Regions from separate parts of the Homo sapiens genome. Here regions 2 and 3 are each linked to region 1. The links are contacts of gene promoters, found by promoter capture Hi-C in human tissues and cell types (Jung and others, 2019). All regions are on one chromosome and are shown on one strand. The core of a region is centred on a gene start or on the middle of the fragment in contact, and the rest is flanking DNA. Distances in the headings are between cores, read along the strand shown. Region 1 holds the start of FAM78A (family with sequence similarity 78 member A). Region 2 overlaps PRRC2B (proline rich coiled-coil 2B). Region 3 overlaps PRRC2B (proline rich coiled-coil 2B).

Evidence for each region. The method cuts DNA at HindIII sites, captures the fragments that hold promoters and counts their contacts. A contact is called where the count stands out against the background at its distance.
Region 2: a contact is called between a fragment that was not itself captured here and the fragment with the promoter of FAM78A in region 1, in 2 of the 25 tissues and cell types used here (heart left ventricle and thymus).
Region 3: a contact is called between a fragment that was not itself captured here and the fragment with the promoter of FAM78A in region 1, in 2 of the 25 tissues and cell types used here (bladder and mesenchymal stem cells).

The regions. Positions count from the first base shown.
Region 1 is chr9:131,274,510-131,278,423 of GRCh38, forward strand. It overlaps FAM78A (family with sequence similarity 78 member A), which reads right to left and starts at 2,001. Exons shown (of 2, transcript NM_033387.4): 1 at 1,348-2,001. The coding sequence starts at 1,670. RefSeq lists enhancers at 481-540, 716-1,328, 741-790, 821-870, 1,031-1,530 and 3 more and a silencer at 2,171-3,350. The HindIII fragment of the contact is 9,704 bases long and covers 28-3,914 here.
Region 2 is chr9:131,409,267-131,413,233 of GRCh38, forward strand. All of the region lies in intron 1 of PRRC2B (proline rich coiled-coil 2B), which reads left to right. Among named protein-coding and RNA genes, the nearest start is that of PRRC2B, 17 kb to the left of the region's middle. RefSeq lists an enhancer at 1-99. The HindIII fragment of the contact is 5,892 bases long and covers 1-3,967 here.
Region 3 is chr9:131,455,138-131,459,155 of GRCh38, forward strand. It overlaps PRRC2B (proline rich coiled-coil 2B), which reads left to right. Exons shown (of 32, transcript NM_013318.4): 10 at 1-29. Among named protein-coding and RNA genes, the nearest start is that of SNORD62A, 29 kb to the right of the region's middle. The HindIII fragment of the contact is 3,387 bases long and covers 584-3,970 here.

The DNA.
Region 1 (3,914 bases), core at 751-3,250:
CAGGCTGGTGGAGAGGGCCGGTGAGAGCCTCTAGATGTGCCCCCCATGTACCTCTTTGGGACAGTCACTGTCACACGCTGGACTTAAGGGTTACTGTGATCCTCATGTTTCCTTTAGAACTTTGGAGTCATTAAGTAGAGAAGCCACCAGACTTGGTGTCCCGCCATCCTCCACCCCTCTCATTTACAGGTGGCCCATGAGATTCTTAAATCTGTGATAAGTTCCAGCTCCTGGGGAAATTCTCCTCTTTTCCCCACTTGCAAAACGGGGACGTGAAGCTGCACAGGGTAGACACTGAGAGAGGCTCTGGGAGTGTCAGCGGCCAGTCACGGGGCCACAGGGTAGACACTGAGAGAGGTTCTGGGAGTGTCAGCGGCCAGTCACGGGGCCGCATGGGTGGGCTGCCCGCCGGGGCCTGCCTAGCTCTCTCCAAAGGGTCCTTACGCTCAGAAACAGCTATTTTCACCATCCCTGTCTTAGGGTGAACCTTCAGATTAAGTCACTCTCCCAACTCTGCCTAAATGCAGCTCTTTTCACCCTGGGGACGGCCTTCTCTGGGGTCAGGAAGCAGGCCAGGAAAGGAGCCCCAGGGTCCCAGGGTCCTCACCGGGACCCCCAATACCCTAGGCACACTCTGGAGACCGGGCTTTGGGGCTGCAGAGGAGAGGCTCCTCTTTGCTGTTCCTGTTAGGGCCTCGCCAGAGGGACACTGGACTTGTCTGCATAAAGCGGTCTTCTGCCTTGGAGACAGAAAGCGATACACTGTGAAGAAATCGGGCTTCTAAAACTAACTGTGCTCTCAAACACAGTGCCGTTTGGAACGGGGAAGCACTCCCCCAGCTCCTGGCATACACTGGTAAAAGCCAGAAAGATAATTGAGGCCCAATCGCAAAGCCCTGAACACACCGGTCTGGGAGTTGCAGAGTGCCTGAATGTCTGCCATGGGCCCGCACAGGGCCAGAGGCCTGGAGGGCAGCCCTGCAGCCTCTCTGGTGACCCCTGATGGCACAGACACTCCTCAGGCGGACGGCACACTTGCTCTGCCAGGAAACACTGGGAGTAATGTCTCTCTGCTTTCTCGGCATCTTGCAGGGAAGGACACAGGAACCCGGGGGGAACAGTGGCAGGGTAGATTGCAGGACCGTGACTCCAATCTGGATCCACAGGCAAACTTTTCAGGGAGCCACCGGGCCAATGAGGCCACCTGCATACCTGCCTAAAGCTTCCCTCTGGCCTCCGTCCTGTCTTCATGGTATCTCCACCTTCCCCCTATCCGCGGCCCCCCACCAGGCCTCCAAGCTCGGCCATCCCTAGCAGTTCCCAGAGCTGGCTCTCGGCCGTACTCACATGCCCTGCTCGCCGTACTGGTTGTAGAACTCCATGTGGCTGCACGCCTGGATCCAGCCAACTACCCAAGTCTCCTTCTTGGGGATGGGCGGCATGACCACCTGGGCCGAGGCCCGGAAGTGGGGTGTCCGGTAGCGGAGCACCACGCTGGAGGACTCATCGATGCTAGTGGGGACGGGGTCGATGGAGGCTTTCACATCAATCACCGTGATCCCTTCCCGGAAGACTCTGGCTTTGCCTCCGATGCTCTGAATACAGCCCATGGCATACAGGAGCGCTCTGATCTCCAGGGAAGGCCAGCAGTCACAGAAAAAACCAGGCATTGAAAGGACAGAGGCTGCAGGACCCAGTACAGACGGCGCTGCTCTCCAATCTCAACTCTCAAGACCGATATCCATAGGATAGAAAACTCACTGAGTAGACTGGGGTTGCATATATCACTACCGCGGCCTGTTTATAAATAAGGATTCTGCTGCATTTCATGAGCCCTGGGCTCTCTCTTCTTCTCCTCGCAGTGGACAAAAATCACCGATATTCTTTGGGTTAAAAAAAGTTTGTAGTTTAATGAATAATTATGCGGTTCTGACATCCAGCCCTTCTGTGCCTCACACGCGGGGACGGCAGCTCGCAGACTCTCCCTGAAGTCTTCGGAGGAAGCAGGCGAGCGCCGGCAGACTCATAAATAAGGAAGGCTCTGTCCCCGCGCGGCCGCGCCACCCTCGCGGCAGAAGCCTGACTTCCTGCCCTCCGGCCTTCCGCACGCGCTCCCTCCGGGCCCCGCACCCGCACCCGCCCGGCGCGGTCGAATCAATTGCAGAGCAGTTTGTGTTCACCCGGCCGAGGTCCCGGCGCCCTCGGGGCGAGCGCCGACCCGCGGCTTCCAGGAGGCGAGCTCAGGGCTCCGGCCGCTCGCCGGTGACGGGGGAGCGCGGCGCGGGTCCCCGTCGGCGCCCACTCGCGGGCGCGGGCCGGACGTCCCCACGCAGGGGCGCCGCGTCCCTTCGCCGCTGTCGCTGCCGGCCGCCGTGCAGGGTCCCGGGGCTGCGCTCCGGCCGCCGCCGCCTGCTTCGCCGCGGCCGCCGAGGACCTGGTGGGAGGTGGAAGGGACAGCGCGTCAAGGCCAGCCTCAAAGTTAAGCCGAACTTTGCTGCGGGGGGCGCGCGGGGGCGGCGACGCGTGTGCGCTGGGCGCGGGCTGCGGAGCTGACGGCGCAGCTCTGGGCGGTCTCCCCGGAGGCGGTGGCCCCCGCCCCCCGCGCCCGCCCCGTCAGTGGCGGCCGCACGACCGCGCGCACCAGCGAATAATAGCCGCCCGTGACATCTCCGCTGATACCGTCCCGGACGGGCGGGGTGGGGGGCGAGCGGCTGCCGCTGCAGGGGGCGGCGAGCACTTGCCCTGCTCTGTCCCCACCGCCGCGCCGCCAGCGCCAGGTGCCCCTTCCCCACCCCGGTCCCTCCGGCTCCCTGGGCGCAGGGCCACCCACCAGTGCCGTCGGATCCGGCGGGCACCCCTTTCCCGGCTGGGGTCCCTCGGCCCTCGGAGGGCATAGTGCCCCCGCTCCGCCGCGTCAAGCGCCTCTGTCGCCCCTCTCCAGCCGCGAGCAGCCCCGGGTCCCCACGCGTCGGGCGCGCTCGCCGCTGCCGGGGAACTTTGGCGCGCACGCCCCCACTCGGGCGGCGCCGCCGACTCACCTGCCCCGGGGGCCACTCCGCTGGCCCGGGCAGCCGCTCTCCGGACGCCCCTGACCCGGCCGCGGGCACGTTCTTGGGGCGCCCCCACCCCCTTCCCCGGGCACTGTCCCTTGGCTCTACTGGAGTCTGGGGCCGGCGTGGGCGCCCCCGGCCCCCACCCTCCTCCCGGCTTGGGGCTTCGGGGGGGCGGCCGGGGGCGGAGGGCTGAGGCTCGGGGCTCTCTCGCCCCCACCCCGCGCGCCTCCTTTATTTTATGATCATTGTGAGCGCGCTGTCGCCGCTCAGCCCCGCCGCCGCGCCGCTGCCGCCTGGCGCGCCCCGCGCTGCCTCGCTCTGCTGCAGCATCGGAAAGGCAACCGGGTCAAACTTTGCAGAAACTCGGCCCCTGCGCCGGCCCGGCCCCCGCGTCCGCTCGCCGCCGCCGCCGGCCGAGCGCAGCCGGCGCACGCAGGGACCGCCGCCCGCTCGCCGGCCCCGCGGGGATGCAGGTCCGCAGGCGGCGGCGGCGGCGGCGGGCGGGCGCCGCCTCCTCCTCCCCGCCCGCCTGGCTCTCCACCCTCGCTCCCCGCACACAGCCCGCCCTCCCCCTGGTAATCCCTCGCTCCCCCTCGCTCCCTGTCTCTGCAGCTGCTCGGGGAGCTGAGCCTCTCCTTGAACAAACGACATTTCCTTTTTGGCCAGCCCCGGGAATTCTGGGTAGTGTAGTTCCGCTGCTGTCTCGGGGCCAGGTGGGCTGCTCCCAGTGCCCTTTGAACTCTATGGACCAGAGGCTTTCTGGGGTTCGGAGCACCCGCAGAAGGGCTCCCTTGCCCTGGGGTTCCTGACCGCAGGGAGACAGTGGCTTGGTGGAGACAGCGCGGGGGCTTTGTAGGCTCC
Region 2 (3,967 bases), core at 61-2,560, 130 kb after region 1:
CCGTCTTGGCCTCCCAAAATGCTGGGATTACAGACGTGAGCCACCGCACCTTACAGGTGCCTGCCACCACGCCTGGCTAATTTTTGTATTTTTAGTAGAGACGGGATTTCACCATGTTGGTTGGCCAGGCTGGTCTCGAACGCCTGACCCCAGGTGATCTGCCCATCTCGGCCTCCCAAAGTGCTGGGATTATAGGTGTGAGCCACTGCTCCCTGGCCACATTAGTATCTTTTGAATTTGTCTTACTGAATGTGTATTAGTAACATGTATTGGTTACAAAGATAATAACAAAGGTAACTCGCATGCATTTCAGTACAGTGGAGCCTGTGGGGGCCGGGCTGGGCTGGGGCAGCTGCTGTGTTGGTGGCTCTTTTCCTGGTGCCAGATCAAACTTACCGTGAGGTAAGAGCTGCTCCAGGCTTCGTATTCCACGCAGACCCATCCAGTGCACCCTGGCTCCTGGTATTGGGCCCCAGTGGTTACTGTGAATTTAACTAGTTCAATCGTCTGTCTCTGTTGATGTGTCAGTGGCCCTCAGAAACTGCTTTGTTTATCTGGTTAGAAGGAACAATCCAATACAAATGCTGTCTCCGATTTCTCTTCTCTACTAAATCAGATTGTACAATAAAGAACATAGATTTTGGTTGCATTTGCAGAGTACTTCTCATTTGTTAATTCACCATTATTTGGAGGTGGAAAAGGAAGGAGTAACTGAAAGAAGCCCATGTATTTCATGTATTTCTTTTATTTGCCAGGTCCTTGTTAAATTTTGACGCCAGAGAGGGAGGCCTTTGTATAGCACATCTGTCCAACTGTTCATCACTCACCATATGTTGAAATCATCTTCTTCCCCACCCCCCTTGCTAAATTAACCGCATCTTCAAAGCGGGAGGTAGGCAGGAACTTGGAGACCGCATATGGGCTTTCCAGCCAGAGTCCTCTTCAGGCTTCAGCCCAAGCCTGCCTGCCTGTGAGCTAGATGAGGAGAGGGGCTCCAGGCAGACCCTGTGGGTGAGGAGCCCAGAGCTGGTGCAGACTCTGGGGGTGTGGGATGCTGTATTAGAGTAAAGATAACAGTGCCAGCGCCAGTTCACACCCCACCGCAGGCCAGGCCTGCACTTCACATTCACCTCAGGTCCCCAGGGGTGCTGGCAGGGCCAGGGAGTACCGTGGGCAGGTGGGGCCATTCTCTGGGGCCCACCGCATGGGCCTCCCAATCATGGCAGCAGGCGTCGTTCTTCCAGTGCCCAACACTGCCCAAGTAAGTCTGGATGTCACATCACCCCGGGTTCAGGTTCAGATTTTTTAGACTCACTAACTGGATGATAGTGACCTTGAACTAGTTATTTAACCTTGCGGAGCCTTCATGTCTATAAAATGGAAGTACTAATACCCTTCTCTGAGTGGTTTATCTATTTTGTTTCTTCGTTCAAGGAACTAATTTTATTCATTTTTTCTTTTCTTTTTTTCCTTGTGGACCTCACCTGACTGGAGGAGCTCCTATTCTTAAATGCAATTTTATGCAGATGTATTTATTACACTCCCTAGCTCTCTTTAGGCTTTTTCTTCATTGTTTCTGCTTTCCCTTACATTTGCTTGCATTGGTTTTTTTCTGATTTCTTAACTTGGATGCTTAATTTATATTTCATTTTTTTTCGTTAGGAATTTGGTTTTTAGGATATTTCCTCTGAGTACAGATTTATTTTTGCTTTGAAAGTTTTCTTACGGCCAGTAATCCCAGCACTCTGGGAGGCCGAGGAGGGCGGATCACCTAAGATCAAGAGTTGGAGACCAGCCTGGCCAACATGGTGAAACCCCATCTCTACTAAAAATAAAAAGAATTAGCTGGGGGTGGTGGCAGGCACCTGTAATCCCAGCTACTTGGGAGGCTGAGGCAGGAGAATCGCCTGAACCCGGGAGGTGGAGATTGCAGTGAGCCGAGATCACGCCACTGTACTCCAGCCTGGGTGACAGAGCGAGACTGTGTCGGCAGGGGAAGAAAGCTTTGTTATGCAGTGTTCTGTTTTTCATTTGTGCTATTTTCTTTTTTTTGTTTGTTTTTTTGTTTTGTTTTGTTTTTTGTTTTGTTTTTTTTTTTGAGACGGAGTCTTGCTCTGTTGCCCAGGCTGGAGTGCAGTGGCGCAATCTCGGCTCACTGCAAGCTCCACCTCCCGGGTTCACTCCATTCTCCTGCCTCAGCCTCCCGAGTAGCTGGGACTACAGGCGCCTGCCACCACGCCTGGCTAATTTTTTGTATTTTTAGTAGAGACAGGGTTTCACTGTGTTCAGGATGGTCTTGATCTCCTGACCTCGTGATCCGCCCGCCTCGGCCTTCCAAAGTGCTGAGATTACAGGCATGAGCCACTGCGCCTGGCCTCATTTGTACTATTTTCTAGATATTTTGCAGGTGTGGTTTTGAATTCCACTTAGATTCAAAACTTTTTTAGTAGAGAGTGTTAGGTTTTCCAGCTCTTGGGGTTATTATTTCTACTTTCATCATGTCTTGTTTTATTGCACTGTTGTCAGTTTTACTTTACAGAATTTGGGATTTTTCTTTTCTTTTTTCAGACAGAGTCTTGTTCTGTCACCCAGGGTGGAGTGCAGTGGCACAGTCACGGCTTACTGCAACCCCAAACTCCTGGATTCAAGGGAGTCTCCCAAGTAGCTGGGATCCAGGCATGTGCCACCACACCCAGCTAATTAATTTTTTTTTTTTTTTCTGTAGAGATGGCGTCTTGCTGTATTGCCCAGACTGATCTCAAATTCCTCACCTCAAGCGATCCTCTCACTTCGGACTCTCAGAGTGTGGGGATTACAGGTGTGAGCCACTGTACCTGGCCTGAATTTTTCTTAAAGTCTAATATAGTCACTTTTAGAACATGTTTGCTCATCTACGTTGACCGTCTCTATCTTGATGGGCTTGATCTACCAAGGTGGACAGGCTTCTGTTTGTTCTAATGTTTGTACTTTCATTGTGGGTGGTCCTCTTGGCCCTTTAAAACTACCCTGCTCTGCTGCTTGCTCTTTTGTGTCTGTCTCCTTTGATTCAACATTTTTTTTGTGCGTTTCATCTGTATAGTTGTGTATGTTTATTTGTTCTTATTGTAGGATGGTTTTTGGTTATGTGGATGTAATTATCCATGTGACAGACTGAGCTCATTTCCATAGTTCTTCCAAACAATGCTGCCACAGTGCGGGTATGTGCGTGCGTGCGTGCGTGCATGCACACGCTGTTGGGTATATACCTAGGTTTGGAGTTAACTGGGTCATGGGTGAGCATATGGTGGCTGCATGGGCAGCTGCCAGCTCTCAGTGATGGCACCAGGTACATGAGGGTCATCCTTGCTCTGCTGACGCTGTAAAGATGTTGCTTCTTTGCAAATTAACCGCTGGATTCCCTGTAATTCTAGTGAAAATCCCAGCAGCTTTTCTTTTGTTTTAGCTGTTTATTTCAGAAATTGACAAACTCATTCTGAAATTTATATGAAAATGCAAAAGGGCCAAGAATAATCAAAGCATTCTCTCTCTCTCTTTTTTTTTTTTTTTTGAGAAGGAGTTTTGCTGTTGCTCAGGCTGGAGTGCAGTGAGACGATTATAGGTCACTGCAGCCTAAAACTCCTGGGCTCAGGAGATCCTCCAGCCTCAGCCTCCCGAGTAGCTGGGATTATAGGTGTAAAAAGTAAAGTAGAGGTTTCATTTTAAAGATTTTCCTCTTCATCTAATTAGGAATAAATAGTAACTTCTTTTAGAAGCAAAATTTATTTAAAGACCTGTGCTAACATTCTTAAATATCTGCTAGCTGTAATAAATAAATTAATGTACTTTATATTCTTAGCTCCTACAATTTAGCCTGAATATTTGCCCTGGTATGCTTATACTGGTCCAAGCAAGCATTAGGTCATAGCCTGTTCCTTTTTCTTATTTGAAGGTGTTTTTACCTTTCTTAGCATTCCACAAGTTACTTTCT
Region 3 (4,018 bases), core at 1,027-3,526, 180 kb after region 1:
GAAGTTGTGAAGGACGGCAGGCCAAAGTGGTAAGGACCCGTTCCTGCCCTATCAGCATGAGTGCATCCCTGCTTAGTGTTGTTGTGTACCCAGAGCATTTCCCAGTTTCCATAGCAACCTGGAATGGCAGACAGATGCTGTTTCCACTTTGTTTTGAGGGTGACAGCTATTGATGATGGCTGTGAAGGAGGGGAGCCAGGGTTTGCCTGCAGGTGTGACTGTGTCCTGTGCATAGTCGGCCTCTTCACCACTGCATCAGTGTGTCCCCAGGTGTGTTATGCAGACCACGTCTTCATGGATTGCTTGTGGCTGTCGTGCCCAAAAAGGCTGCTGTGGCCAAGCAAGTTTGGGAAACCTCCCTGGGTTCAACTTCTTTTTTTTTTTTTTTTTTTTTTTTGAGACAGGCTCTCACTCTGTCACCCAGGCTGGAGTGCGGTGGCATGATGTCAGCTCACTAAAACCTCCATCTCCTGGGCTCAGCGATTCTCCCACCCCAGCTTCCCAAATAGCTAGGACCACAGATGCACGCCAGCATACCCAGCTAATTTTTATCTTTCTGCTGGAGATGGGGTTTGCCACGTTACCCAGGTTTGGTCTCAAACTCCTGGGCTCAAGTGATCCACTGTGCCTGGCCTCAACTTCTTTCTTTACTCCAGATTCCTCGGAGCCTTGAACATGCTAAAGTACACTGGGGGCCGGGCACGGCGGCTCGTGCTGTTAATTCCAGCACTTTGGGAGGCCGAGGCAGGTGGATCTCTTGAGGTCAGGAGTTTGAGACCAGCCTGCCCAAGATGGTGAAACCCCGTCTCTACTAAAAGTACAAAAATTAACCAGGTGTGGTGGCGTGTGCTTGTAATCCCAGCTACTTGGGTGGCTGAGGCAGGAGAATTGCTTGAACCCAGGAGGCAGAGGTTGCAGTGAGCCAAGATTGTGCCACTGTACTTCAGCCTGGGCGACAGAGCAAAACTCTGTCTCAAAGGAAAAAGAAAAAAAAAATTAAGTGCACTGGGGAGGTGAAGAAGCAGAATGCATGCCAGCTTTCCTGAATTTATTTGACCATGTTAATTTTGTCTCTTTTTTTTTTTTTTTTTTTGGATCATTTCCTTGGACTAGTTTAGTTTTGTTTAATTTCCTTTAGAAAATACTGCATTGTACTCTCATCCCTCTAGTTTTTATAATGTTAGTAGCACTTTTAAAATAATACCCCACAATGGCCAGGCACGGTGGCTCACGCCTGTAATCCTAGCACTTTGGGAGGCCAAGGCGGGCGGATCACGAGGTCAGGAGATCGAGACCATCCTGGCTAACACAGTGAAACCCCGTCTCTACTAAAAATACAAAAAACTAGCTGGGCATGGTGGTAGGTGCCTGTAGTCCCAGCTACTCGGGAGGCTGAGGCAGGAGAATGGCATGAACCCGGGAGGCGGAGCTTGCAGTGAGCCGAGATCACGCCACATGCCACTGCACTCCAGCCCGGGCAACAGAGCGAGACTCCACCTCAAAAAAAAAAAATACCCCACAATTAGTTGGGCGTGGTGTGCACCTGTAGTCCTAGCTACTCAGGAGGCTGAGGTGGGAGGACTACTGGAATCCAGAAGGTCGAGGCTGCAGTGAGCCATGATTGCACCACTGCACTCCAGCCTGAGTGACAGAGTAAGGCCCTGTCTCAAAAAATTAATAATAACAATCATACCTATGGTTGTCATAATTTGTATTTTTTGAGTACTAGCAAGTAAGACTTTTTCCTTTGCTTCCTTTGTATAATGCCTGTTTCCTTCACATTTATCACTGCTTTCCGTTAAAATGTAATGTTTTATATTGTTTAGATGTTAATGCTTTGCTGTTGGTCTTGCAAATATTTTTCTCTGTTTTCTTGTCAATAACTGAATATTTGTTTAGTCAAATCTGTGAGTCATCTTTTTCTTTGTTATTTCATCCTTTACTTAAAAGCTTCCTAAAGTAAGTGCCCATCTTCTGGAAAGAGTTGGTAATAATCTTTGCTACTCTTTTTCTGATGACACACAAAAAATGAAATTCTGTAATTTCCTTTCATGCTGTTTGATTTCAGCTGAAGCTTTGGATGCAGTCGGGACATACCTATGGGTCAGTTCCTGGAACACTAAGCTCAGAAGGAGCTGTGATCAAGAATTAAAATCAAAGGCAAAGACATAAACTCTTAGAGACTGATTGGAGCAGTAGGACACTCTGTGTTCCTTGTCTCTTTGAGGCGATGGGAACTGCATATTCCCCTGAAGGAACTGGACATTGGTTTTGGAGACAGTTTTGCCCCTGACTTTGACCAAGGGCACTTCAAAATCAGAGTGCCCGAACGATCTCCTCCTGAAACCTGCTCTTTTTCTTCATGTTCTCTGAGCTGGTTGGTGACCTGGTAGAGACTTAGTGCATGCATCCATGTCTTATTTGGCATCTTTATTTCCTCATACACAATTGGCTCCCAAAACTTGCCCTGACTCTGTCTCCTCTTTTCATTTTCTCTGGGGCCACTGGGACCTCCTCCTTTTCCAGACCATCCATGGGTCCACCAGTTCATCTCCATCCTTTCAGCCTGTCCTCCATGGCCCGTCCTTGACACCCTGCCCATAGTCATCTTCTAAAAACACAGGTCTTTTAGACAGGTCAGCAGCTTTACTGTGGTCTCCATTTCTGACAAAGTCAGATAGGAATCACCGTTGTCCCCTCTGTAATTGTTGTCCCCTCTGTAATTTTCCCCTCTGTAATCTCCTAAGCTATGTTACCTGCCTCGTCTTCCCTCCCTCGCCACGTACGTGTGTGGGTAGACACACAGGCCCACACATCTGCCATCCCTGATTCCCGCTTTTCTCTGATCTGCAGTATTACCGGGCCCTTGCAAATGCTTTGCCCCAGCACCATTGCTTCCATTGTGAGGCGTCCAGACGAGCATGGCACCCATCCCCTTCTTGTCCAGCCACCCCTGCAGCTCTGTTTGGAACACCTCCTCCTTTTCCATGCTGTGTCGGCTCTGCTTGTCTCCTCTTGCTCTTTTTATTGTGGCACTGTTTAGTAGTCATCTTTTGTTCTTTTGAGGGGCATTTATTGAGCAACTGGCTTGTGCAGAGCATAGGGAGGGAGATGTACCAAAAGGAGACGGACACGCACCTGGGAGTCCTGGTTCAAATCTGTGAGCTCCTCCCTGTGAGGGGTGCCCCGTTAACCTTGATGAGACTCAGCTACTGACTTTTTAAATCAAGAGTGTCCAATCTTTTGGCTTCCCTGGGCCACACTGGAAGAGTTGTCTTGAGCCACACATAAAATACACTAACACTAACGATAGCTGATAAGCTAAAATGAAAAAGTTACGAAAAAATACCTCATAATGTGTTTTTATTTTTTTTTTTTTCTGAGACGGAGTCTCTCTCTGTTTGTTGCCCAGGCTGGAGTGTAGTGCCGCGATTTTGGCTCACTGCAACCTTCACCTCTGGGGTTCAAGCACTTCTCCCACCTCAGCCTCTAGTAGCTGAGATTACAGGTGCCTGCTACCACACCTGGCTAATTTTTGTATTTTTAGTAGAGACTTGGTTTCACCATGTTGGCCTGGCTGATCTGGAACTCCTGACCTCAAATGATCAGCCCGCCTCAGCCTCCCAAAGTGCTAGGATTACAGGCGTGAGCCACTACGCCCAGGCCCTCTTATAATGTTTTAAGAAAGTTTACGAATTTGTGTTGCGCTGCATCCAGAGCCCAGGGCCATCCTGGGCCACATGTGGTTGGACAAGCTTGCTTTAAAGTGAGGATCATGAGGACTTTTTTTTGCATCGGTGAAATAGTGTGACATATCGTGCCTGGGGCTCTGTTTAATGAGAGTGACTTGATAAATGGTGGGGCTGAACCGTGGAATTCACATGGAAGTAGTGGGAGTGGTGGTCCATTCTAATGAAGAAAATGATTTGGACAGCTGACTTGGGAATTCTCAAGGCCTCTGACCAGTGAGATCAGAAATGCTTGGCCTGAGTGCAAAAACTTAACATCAAATGTGGTT